Regions from separate parts of the Homo sapiens genome. Here region 1 is linked to region 2. Evidence: promoter capture Hi-C in human tissues and cell types (Jung and others, 2019). All regions are on one chromosome and are shown on one strand. Each heading gives the region's core, a stretch centred on a gene start or on the middle of the fragment in contact. The rest is flanking DNA. Distances are from core to core; before and after follow the strand shown. Region 1 holds the start of PDE6B (phosphodiesterase 6B). Region 2 holds the start of ZNF718 (zinc finger protein 718).

Evidence for each region. Contacts are between HindIII fragments. The study calls those that stand out against the background at their distance.
Region 1: a contact is called between the fragment with the promoter of PDE6B here and a fragment that was not itself captured in region 2, in 2 of the 25 tissues and cell types used here (dorsolateral prefrontal cortex and lymphoblastoid cells).

Annotation. Positions count from the first base shown.
Region 1 is chr4:624,232-630,017 of GRCh38, reverse strand. It overlaps PDE6B (phosphodiesterase 6B), which reads right to left and starts at 4,445. Exons shown (of 22, transcript NM_000283.4): 1 at 3,924-4,445. The coding sequence starts at 4,391. RefSeq lists enhancers at 2,791-3,779, 3,780-4,769, 5,759-5,786. The HindIII fragment of the contact is 19,693 bases long and covers 1-5,332 here.
Region 2 is chr4:122,766-128,231 of GRCh38, reverse strand. It overlaps ZNF718 (zinc finger protein 718), which reads right to left and starts at 3,731. Exons shown (of 4, transcript NM_001039127.6): 1 at 3,559-3,731. The coding sequence starts at 3,561. LOC124900641 reads left to right here and starts at 2,641. Exons shown (of 1, transcript XM_047416469.1): 1 at 2,641-5,028. The coding sequence starts at 2,984. The coding sequence ends at 3,460. RefSeq lists enhancers at 2,497-2,556, 2,817-3,016, 3,307-3,746. The HindIII fragment of the contact is 5,599 bases long and covers 1,417-5,466 here.

The DNA.
Region 1 (5,786 bases), core at 3,196-5,695, 500 kb before region 2:
TGGGCTTCCCTACTTCCCCAGAGGCTCCTGGTCAGACATGCCAGGAGCCTTGTCTGGGAGCAGGTGGCAGCTGTGGACTCTCAGGCTCCTGGGAACCCCCTGCATTTGCTCTGCCTCTAGCAGGCCTGGGGGCTGTGTGTGCTCACATAGCCGAGCAGCTGGGCCTCGCTCTGGGGCCTTCACACCCACTGTGGCTTCTCCAAAGCACCTCCAACTGCCCAAGCCCCACACCTCCTCTGCCGTCTGTGCTCAGCATGGCTGACGGCCGGTCCTGCCACCCTCCTCCCTCTATCTCCGGATTCCCACCCAGCCCGTGTTCTCAACGCCCCTGCTCTGTCCAGCCTTGTAGAGACCACCATAGGACTGAGTCGAAGGGTCTTGACTGCTGGCGACGTGCAGGACCCCGTGATGAGGTGTTTTGGGGCAGGGGGCAGGGGACCCACCAGGGTCCCGGGACGGGCCTTTGGGATGGGTTCCCATGACGGTCCCAGGGAGAGGAGCTGGAAGGTGGTGGAGGCTGAGGCTGCATGCACAGCACTGCGGGGTCCGTGGCTGTTCGGCTGGGGCTGGGCTCAGAAACCGCTGCACAGTCAGAGCTGGGGTGTGAGTCCTGCCCCGCCACTTGGTGGCCGTGGCCGAGCCCCACCAGCCCACCAGGATCGTCCATCCCAGCTGCCCTCGCTGTGAACTCTTGCAGGTCTGAGGAGCCACAAAGGGGTGATGGGGGGGCTGGTGGCTTCCCCCTCATCAGGTGTGGGCGGCGTCCCTGCCCGGGGTGCACAGCGGGGGATGGGGAAGGCCATGCCACCTCACAGGCCCACTCGCTCCTCCCTCTCTGCACCCGACCTGTGCTTCCTTCCTGCCAAGAGGCTTGTCTAGGAGCCATGAACACTGGGTAGCTGGGCAGGGCCTCTCACCCGGCTGGCCCATTGGCTTCTGACATGTTGGGAGGGATGGAGGGGGGCCTGGTGTCCGCCTTCTGGGACCTGTGGTTCCTGAGCCCAAGGTTTTAGGGTTCACAATCCATGCCCAGGCCTGGGCCAGGCTCCAGGAAGGTTGTGCTCAGTCCTGAGTCCCGGCAGGGCCCCCCTTGTGCAGGCCCTGGGATTCGCTGTGTCTCCCCAAGGGGCTGCCGTGACACACAACATGTGTAGTCGTGGGGTTCTGGGAGCAGACAGGGACTTGGAGCCATCAGCTGAAGCCCTGCACCTCCCAGAAGCTGGTCCCACGTGGCCTGGCACCGCCTGGGCTCCCTGTAGGCCCGAGAGTGTGAGCCCTGGGCAGCCCCTCCCTCCATGGTGGCTCCTGGGACAGACCCCTGGGGACAGGAGGGCCCACAGGCCAGGCTACTGCAGCCTTCACCCTGGGCTGGCACCCTCAGCTCCAGGAGGATGGACGCTTGCAGCTCAGGGAGGAGCGGGTTACCCGGGGCCTGCCTGCCCTGCAGACTCAGGGCCCGCTGTGCTCAGGAGCAGGCTGGTTTAGCCGCTGCAGCACCCTTGAGAGGCAGACATTAGTTCCCCAATGTAAACAGGGAGACAAGGCTCAGGAGGGCGAGACTCCGGGTGGCCCGGGCAGGAGGGTGAGACTCCGGGTGGCCCGGGTGTTGCGTGCTGGCCACCCACGCCCCGTCTGAGGGACTCTTCCACCACAGCCACGAGCTGCTCTCCTGAACTGGCCGGTGCGGCTCACGCCCTCCAAAGAGGGTGCAGTGGGCCAGACTGAGGTGTGCTCTGCCTCAGTCCCCCCTTCTGTAAACTGAGACATGAACCCAGAAGCCACTTGGCAGTGCTTAGGGTGCTGAGATGCACTTCATGAGGCTTTGCACTTCATGAGGATTTGCACTTCATGAAGATTTGCTTTTTTTGGTGGCAATTCAGACTCAAGTTTCTGTTCCCTTAGTCTGAGATAACTAAGACTCCACAGAATGGAGGGACAGACACCATGCCCAGCCCCTTGGAATGGCACCAGCTACACTGGGCAGGGGAGAGGCCTCGGAGGTCAGTCCTGGGGCAGGTGCGGCCATGGCACTGGGGGTGGGGGTGGCAGGACCTAGAACAGCCCTGGGGAACAGGCCAGGCCGAGGGACGGACCTAGGACAGCCCAGCAGTTTGAGGGGGACCCGCAGAGCAGGGAAGAGACACCATCAGCCGGGTGGGGACAAAGGGGTGAAGGGGTGGTGGCAGCGGGGGACAAACTCCTGGGGGCAAGAAAGACACAGCCCAGATTTGGGACAGGGTGGGGATGAGAAGTTGTCTTGGGGATTGTGTGCAGGAGGAAGGAAGGGAGACGGGGAGGATGGCAGAAAAGGAGGGAGGAGGGTGGCAGGAGAGTGAGGGGAGGAGGGAGGAGGGAACGGGGGGAGGGAGGAGCAGCTGGTGTCCACCCCAGGCCCCACTGCTGTGAAGTTTCCTGGCTTCCTGGTAACTCATGCTCCTGATGCACGATTGATTTGTGGGTGCCCCACTTCTTAGGAGGGAGGTGGAGATGAAGGTAACCCGGGGATTACTGAATCTAGGTCACTGCCTTGCTGCTTGCTTACTGCCATTGGGATAAGAGGATTGCCACTTCCGGCCTGGTGCGGTGGCTCACGCCTGTTATCCCAGCACTTTGGAAATCTGAGGCAGGTTGATCACCTGAGGTCAGGAGTTCGAGAACAGCCTGACCAACATGACGAAACTCTGTCTCTATTAAAAATACAAAAATTAGCCGGGTGTGGTGGCGGGCACCTCTAGTCCTAGCTACTCAGGAGGCCAAGGCAGGAGAATCGCTTGAACGTGGGAGACGGAGGTTGCAGTGAGCTGACATCATGCCACTGTACTCCAGCCTGGTGACAGAGCAAGACTCTGTCTCAAAAAAAAAAAAAACCCACAAACGAAAACAAACCAGGATTGCCACTCCCCAGCTGCCTGGGAAGGAGGGACCACACCTGCCCCTGGGCTGGCAGCCTGGTGGGTAATTCCCAAGGCTCATCCAGCAAGAGCGGAGGCTGCCTGGGCCTCTTGCAGCCTCCTTAGCTGTGGGGACAGAAAAGGGGAGAGGAAGCTGGGACGGGTGCAGGACAGGGAGAAGGGGCTTCCCCCCTCCCCTTCTTCCTCAGAGCCCCCTTGCCGGGCAGCTCCTCAGGGCCTTTCCAGGTCTCTGCTGGCCGCTGCCCTCACCCAGTCTGGCAGGCACCTCACACCCCTCTTGTTCTCCAGTCCCGCCAGGACCGCCTCTGTCCTCGGGAAGCGTCTGCCCTAGCCCAGGCTTTGCATGAACAGGCCCTGCCCTTCCCTCCTTCAGTGACTCCAGTGAGCCTGTCTCGATTCTGTCTCTTGTCCCTCCCCAGTCCCACCCTGGACCCCTGTGCTCAGTGGCTACCAGGTTTGTTCTCCCCTGGCGGCTGGCGTGGGCTCCCATGGGATAAAGCTGCTTCTGCCACAGTGGAAGTTTGGGGTTCCCCTGGCTCTCCCTCCCTGTGGGCGTCTGCACCACCTTCGACTGTGACCTCTTCTTCCCAAATCCCAAGGCAGGGCCTCCCTCCCAGCCCAGAGAGCCCTGAAGCCCCCATCTGGTCAGTCTTCCTGGAAGCCAGGGGTCCTCACAGGGACTACATGGTCCCCACCATGGGATGTGGATGCAGAATCAGGGGCACCCCGGTTTGAGCCTGAGTCTGCTTCAGCCGAGGCTCCTAGACTCAGGTCTAACCAACTCAGTGGCCATGCGATGTCAGCTTGAGCCAGAAGCCGAGTCGGAGAGGCAGGCGGCCAGGGCACAGTGCCGGGAGGGGGCTCTAGGTACTTGCTCCTCAGCACAGAACTAGCCTGTGCCCTGACAAGAGGCCTCCCTGGAGGCCTGAGGATCCGAGCTGACCCTTAGACACCTGGGACAGGTGCAAGAGATGCACACAGCCGCCTCCCTGAGGCTCCGCACAGACCCACCTCGGCCACGTCCTCGACGTTCACCATCTTTTTGGTCTGAGCCACGTGGCCCACGACCCCGATGTCCAGTGGGAAGACGATCTCGGAGTCGGGGGGCACCAGGCAGTCCTCCAGGACGCTGTCCGGCTGCACGCTGAAAAGCCTGGTGGCCAGCTCGGCCACGCCGTTGCGCTGGCGGTACATGAAGAGGCTGCAGCGGTCGGCCTGCAGGAGGGTGCAGAGGCGCCGCAGGACCTTGAAGACCACGCGCTCCATGTTGATGCTCTCCTGCATATCCTGCACCAGCTCCAGCAGCGCCGTGCTCTCCTCCACCTGGCAGAGGTCCCGGAGGCTGTCGCAGTCCGGCGGGCACCCGTCCTCGCAGGCCGCGGCCACATTCTCAGGGCTCAGTTTCTTCCCAAAGTACTGGCGGGCAAAATCGGGGTTCTGGTCCAGAAAGCTCCGGGCCTGCTCCTCACTGAGGCTCATGGTGGCTGCCTGTCCCTGGAGACGCTGCTGCTCCAGGCACGCATGGACTCCCAGGAAACCCTGTCATCAGCAAAGTCTTTCTTAGTGAGATTAGGAACCCCGGGGGCGGGTCAGCTGACTCACTCCTACAAATGGGGGCCTGCGCTCCCTCTCCTCAGACCCTGGGACTTCCCACCTTCCAGGAAAACCAGACCCTGTGGAATGAAGGCTGGGAGTAACTGTTGGGGGATCTCCTGCCTGTTGCAGGCGTCACGGGTGGCTGGGCACAGGCATTTGGCTTCTAGCGGACCAGGCCCTGAGAACTAATCCCCTGAGGAGGTTATCCCACACACAGCATGACGCTTTCTGCTGGTGGAGCTGCCTGAGGGTTTGGGTTGGTCCCACAGGTGGCCCCAGGCCCTCCTGGGAGCCCAGACCTGGGCTCGGGTGTGCTGGGGAGGTGGTGGGGCACTGGCCCTGCCTCCAGGAGATGCAGTTCACCCCTGTGCAGGGAGAGGGGGCTGGGTAATCACACCAGGACCCAAATGCCCAGAGGCCAGCAAGGGGACCCTGGATGTGGAGGTGGGACCACATCCACCTTCCCCCACACTCTGAGGGATGCAGAGTTGCTAGTCAGCCTTTACCTGCTGTCAGGCCCCGGCTGGGACAAGCTTCGGGGTGACGCCGCTCTGAGGCCACATGGCTTTCAGTGGAAAAAGGACCTGAATGTTGGGGGGCTGCCTGGCAACAAAGCCCGACCTCTCCTCTCCGCTGTCACCTCAGCAAGCCTTGCCTGCTCCCATAGGCCTCTCGGCTCCTGGGCCAGCTCCCTGCAGGCCAGCAGGGGTGATGTGGCCAGAAGCACCTTGGCTGGGTCTGGCATGGGCGCCGGCCTGGCGGGCGGGTGGCAGTGTTCCTGATTTCCCTGAATATAAAAACGCTGATTGTCGCTTTCCAGGCACCTTTGTGCTGCCAGATCCTGGGCTTAAGGTTTCTTCCCATCTTTTCCAGTTTATCTGTCCATGTTGTCACCATACTTTTAACCAGGATGCAAGGTTTTCATGTGGTTCTTTTACTGCACTCAGCTGGTAGACGTGTGTGCACGCGTGCATGAGTGTGCACATACGTGTGTGCACGGAGTGTGAGTGTGCGCACGTGTAGGTGTGTGTGTTCGTGTGAGCACGTGTGCATGACAGCCAGGTGCCCTCAGGAGCGCAGAGTTCTCTCAGCACGAGGCCAGGCCCCGGGGAAGCTTCTGCGAGGGCCCTGGGCTGCACCGCTGCAGCTGCCTGTCTCGGAGGCTGCTCTGAGGCAGCATCTGCGCCGTCCACAGTGGGCCCAGCTGGGTGTGCGACGTGTGCCCTTGTGCCATGATGTTCCTGCCTCCACTTAGTCACAAAGTCACTTCCTTTCAAG
Region 2 (5,466 bases), core at 2,967-5,466:
AGAAAATGTCTTCTGTGAGTTTTTCGTATGTCTTCAACCCAAAGTCTGGTCCAGTGTTGGGAATCCCAGGCAGAGGCCAACTTTTGTATGCAGATTCTAGGTGGGATCAATGTGCCTCTACATTCTTAGGGGTTAGAGTAAGCAGAGTAAAACCAGAGGAGAGATCACCTCATGGAGGCTCCTTCAACACATTCTTAAGAATATTTTGACCTAAAAGGAAATACTGGGATAAACATAATATAAGTAGAGAGTTTTCTGGGGCCAAAGCTTGAAGACTGCAATCCTGGAGTATAAAGCTACCTGAATATACACTCCAATTACAAGTATATTTGTAAAGGCAAAAAGGAAGGCAGGATAGAAAGTTGTCAGGAATTCTTATTTACAGAAGTAACATTGGTTAGTGATTGGTTATATACATTGTTAAGCTATTGGGTGTGGATTATAGTGTCCAGTGTGGCATTATTAGGTTAATTTATAGCCACTTGTGCCAATAGCAAGCAATTTCAAAAGACAAATAGTTCAAAGACGGGAACAGTACATCACTGTGGTCTCATTTTAACCAGTCTCTGGGTCTGATCATTAAAAGAACATGTATTTCTCAAATAAAAGTTCTTTTCTTCTCTCAAATCCCAGAAAATAAATTCAGAATTTGGAACTGCACATTTAGGTCTTGGAGGGCTGGTGAGCTATGCACATTTGCGGGCATTTGGGCAAAGGGAGGAGGGAGAGAATTGAAGTTCTCAAGTTTAATCAATGCACATGTATGATCCTGGTTGGGTTTATGGGCCCCGTGATCTCTGAATCCGTGTCAGATCTGAAGATGACAGGAGCACTGAAGGAGGTGAAATAACTGATTGCTGTCCTGAAGTGATTTTTGTAGAAATCTAGTCTAACTGCTCTAGAAGGGACTGTAGATCCCAAATAGAGAGACTATTTTGTTTGCAGATTTGGGGAGCACCTTGCTGCACTTTGTCATACAATTGTGGGTTGTGGCTGGAATCCTGAGAAGAAAGGTTTTTCTCTCAAGTGAAGCCTGGTGGGCACTTTGTATATAACGTCCAGTACTTCTAAACAGTGCATGGAAAATATGACTAAAAGAAAAATTTTCAGCCAGGCACGGTGGCTCACGCCTATAATCCCAGCACTTTGGGAGGCCAAGGCCGGTGGATCATGAGGTCAGAAGATGGAGACCATCCTGGCCAACATGGCGAAACCCCGTCTCTACTAAAAATACAAAAAAATTAGCTGAGTGTGGTGGCGCGCCTGTAATCCCAACTACTCAGGAGGCTGAGCAGGTGAATCGCTTGAACCTGGGAGGTGGAGAATGCGGTGAGCCGAGATCGCACTACTGCACTCCAGCCTGGCGACACAGCGAAGACTCCGTCTTAAAAAAAAAAAAAAAGAGAAAAATTATCTCCAATCCTAAAAAAATTTTCCACCATAATAGAACAGCAAGAAAATGTTTTGTTATATAATTAAACCAAAATGTGATGTGCATCACAGGCAATCTACTAAGAGACTGCAAACACAGAAAAAAAGTCACCATTAGTTCTTAAGTAGAAGACTTGAAAGCACCATTTACACAGTTTATTATTTCACCTAGTAATTTGGGAGGTAATCTGGGTTTTCTAATTGGTAATATTCAAAAGAAAAATAAACTTCCCACATCTTCATGACAGGACGTAGACCCACAATGTGGAGCCAGGTACCTGCTGAAGGCAGCCTCCCACCCTCCTACAGAAACTGTGGGATATATTCTTGCTATTCACATTTCAAAGCAATAGTTCCCAAGTCCTAGATAAAGACAAGTCTGAGTCAAAAAAGACAAATGACCTATTTAACTGATAAAAATGATTTACATATATTTCAAAAACTGGTGAAAATAATTATAAAAATTTTCCACCTAAATGCTTTAAGAAAAGGGAGAAGAGCAAAAATTCTTCCCTCACTCTAAAGAGAAATCATTAAGCCTCTTCTAATTTGTATTTGCTCCTACAACAGCCAGGTCTAAGGCATGGTCTTGAATTCCCTAACGTCTGAATTCTTGTAGGCACGTAAGGGATGAACTTGGGCACACTGTATGCACAGAAAAGAGGATTTGTGGGGAAGGAAAAAGCACAAGACAGCAAGGAGCTATCAAGAGCCATGGGGTGGGGGCAGGGCACAACTGATGAAAGGACTGGTTTGTGCTACAGGTACAGGCCCAGGCAGGGCTACGCACTGACTGATTCCTGAGTCCATAAAGGCATAGGAGATTAAGATCAGATGGTCCAGAAGCCTGGGTTGGAGAAGGAAACGGGCTCCTGCTAAACAGATCTGGGGTTGAGATGAGCCAGGAGTCTTCTGGGCACTGCGTGTGCTTTTGGCAGAAAACTGTAGGAGCAAAACTGCCATGGGCACAATTCCTGAGGGTAGAACCCTGTCTTAGGCCAGGTGTGGCCGTGCGAATGCCCAGTGGGCGTGCTCAGGAGTGGGTTAGCATTGGGTGGGGGCTGGCAGCAGGATGCGGGGAAGGGATGTTTCTTAGAACTGCTTTCCTCTAAGTTCCCAGTCCCCTTTCTCCCCGGGAGGAGGCCTGGAGGAAGAGGACAGTGCCCAGCGGGACAGCGCCTGTGCAGAACCCGGCCGCGCCTCCTGCGGACACCAGGTGACTTCCTCCAACCCAGACTCGGCCATGTCTTTCTTCTGACAGAAAACTTGCGGAGTTTCCTCAACACCAGTCAATGCTCCAACCCCAACGGGGTGTCCAGCAACTCACTAACGACACCACCCAGAGTCAGCGCTGACCCCACAAGCTCAGCACTCTTCCCGCAGCTGCTCTCCTGCAGACGCCAGTCCCTGCCTCTGGACACCCGTCTTCATTTCTGAACCCCTGCCTACAAACCAGGGACGCCCACACCCTCCTCAAGTTCAATAATGTGGCAGAACTACTCACAGAACTAAGAGAAGCGCTGTGCGCACCGACACCAGCGTATTCTAAAAGATGCGAACAGACACCAGCGTATTCAGGAACAGCCACGCGGAGGAGGCGCACAGGGCAAGGGGACTGGCGGCAAAGTTGGCGCAGGCAGGTGATTTGCTTCGCTTCCTCACACACCTCACAAAAGCCTTTCCTTCAAGACCCGCTGGCAGTCCCCAAACCACGAGCCACGGCAGAGCTTTCCCATTAATAAGTCCTGTTTGCTCACATGAACTCCATGTTTTGATGGGGCCTCAATCTCATTCTGAACAGGGTAAAGTAGGGACGGGATTCCGGACCACAGCTCCTCCCACGCCGGCACCGCGCAGGCCGCCGCGGTGTCTTCCGGATGAGCTCCTACTCACTCCACAGCCCGGGGAAAGTGCAGGGCTACCGGCGCAGAGCTGCACAAGGAGGGCTGCAGGCTGGGCCAGAGCCGCTGTACGGGGACTGACAAGAGCGCGGGTCCCTCACCGGAGGGGACTGAGGACAGAGGGCTGAGCGGGAACTCCATTCACAGACTCCTCCCACCGCCGCCATTTCCCGCCGGTTCCGATGAGGCCTCCACAGCCTTGGGACGCCCTGCCCTGCACACTCACCATTTCCCGACTTCAGGAGTGTCCCAGAGTCTTAGATACGAATCATCCAATACCGGCAGGTCACAGAGCCACAGAGGCTGAGGCTGTGGCAGAATCACCGAGGCTTCCCTAAGGAGCGGGAGCAGAGCGATGAGGCCCTAACCGAGCTCTGGCTGGAGCTACAAGCAAAAGCCGCGCCAGATCCCGGATGCCGCACCCTCCTCTCTGCTGCGCGCCTCATTCGGCAGTTGTCAATCCAGCGCTCTAATTGGATAGAGCTGTAAGTCTCCCGCCTCAGGCCTTGAGTGACAGAAGTTGCAACCATACACAGCACTGAATGAGGCGAGAGTGACAGGCTCTGGCCTCCTGGTACTTTGAGGCAGGTTTTTTGTGTTTGTTTTTTGAGTCTGGCTCTTCTCGCCCAGGCTGGAGTGCAGTGGCGCGAACTCGGCTCTCTGCAACCTCTGCCTCCCGGGTTTAAGCGATTCTCCTCAGCCTCCCAAGTAGCTGGGATTACAGGTGCCCACCACCACACCCGGCCAATTTCTGTATTTTTAGCAGAGACAGGGTTTCACCATGTTGGCCAGGCTGGTCTTGAACTCCTGACCTCAGGGTATCTGTTCGCCTATGTCTCCCAAAATGCTGGGATTAAAGGCGTGAGCCACCACGCCCGGCCCAGGCTGGGGTGTTATCTCTGTGCTTGGCTTGGTACAGCCCAGTGGTCATTTTTTTAACCTTGTGGTATGTAAGGTTAGGTCCATTTATAATATAAATTATACACACACGCATGCATGCACGCACATGCACACACACGTACACATGCACGCGTGCATACACAAACTTGTTCACAAACGGAAACAATATAATGACAATTATTTTAATGTTTTATAACCTTTCTGGCCTCTGGTCTTTTGAGTAGGACACATGAGATTTTAAGAAGGAAGTAATCCTCTAAAAAATAAAATGTTAGCTATTAGTGAATTTTCAATTTTTTATTAGCCACATCGAAAATAATAAAAACAAGTGAGATTGTTTGTGATAATTTTAGCCTACTATATCCAAAATATTATTGTTTTAATATGTGATCAATATATAATTGAGAGGTGAAGCCAGCTGGACTTCCTGGGTAAACTGGGGACTTGGAGAACTTTCCTGTCTTACAAGAGGATTGTAAAATGTACCAATCAGCACTCTGTAAAAACGCACCAATCAGTGCTCTGTAGCTAGCAAGGGGATTGTAAAATGCACCAATCAGCACTCTGTAAAATGCACCAATCAGCAGGATCCTAAAAGTAGCCAATTGCAGGGAGGATTGAAAAAAGGGCACTGTGATAGGACAAAAACGGAACACGGGAGGGCACAATTAAGGGGAAATGGGAGGTGGAATAAAAGCTGACCACCCCAGCCAGCAGTGGCAACCAACTGGGGTCCCCTTCGATGCTGTGGAAGCTTTGTTATTTCCCTCTTCAAAATAAACCTTGCTACTGCTCACTCTTTGGGTTCGTGCTATCTTTAAAAGCTGTAACACTCACCACAAAGGTCCGTGGCTTCATTCTTGGTCAGCAAGACCACAAACCCACCGGAAGGAACCAACTCCAGACACATAATTAGGAATACCTATATTTTGCCAGGCGCTGTGGCTCACGCCTGTAATCCCAGCACTTTGGGAGGCTGAGGTGGGTGGATCACGAGGTCAGGAGATCGAGACCATCCTGGCTAACATGGTGAAAGCCCGTCTCTATTAAAAATACAAAAAAATTACCCAGGCGTGGTGGCGGGTACCTGTAGTCCCAGCTACTCAGGAGGCTGAGGCAGGAGAATGGCGTGAACCCGAGAGGCAGAGCTTGCAGTGAGCCGAGATTGCACCACTGCACTCCAACCTGAGCGACAGAGCAAGACTCCGTCTCAAAAAAAAAAAAAAAAAAAGAA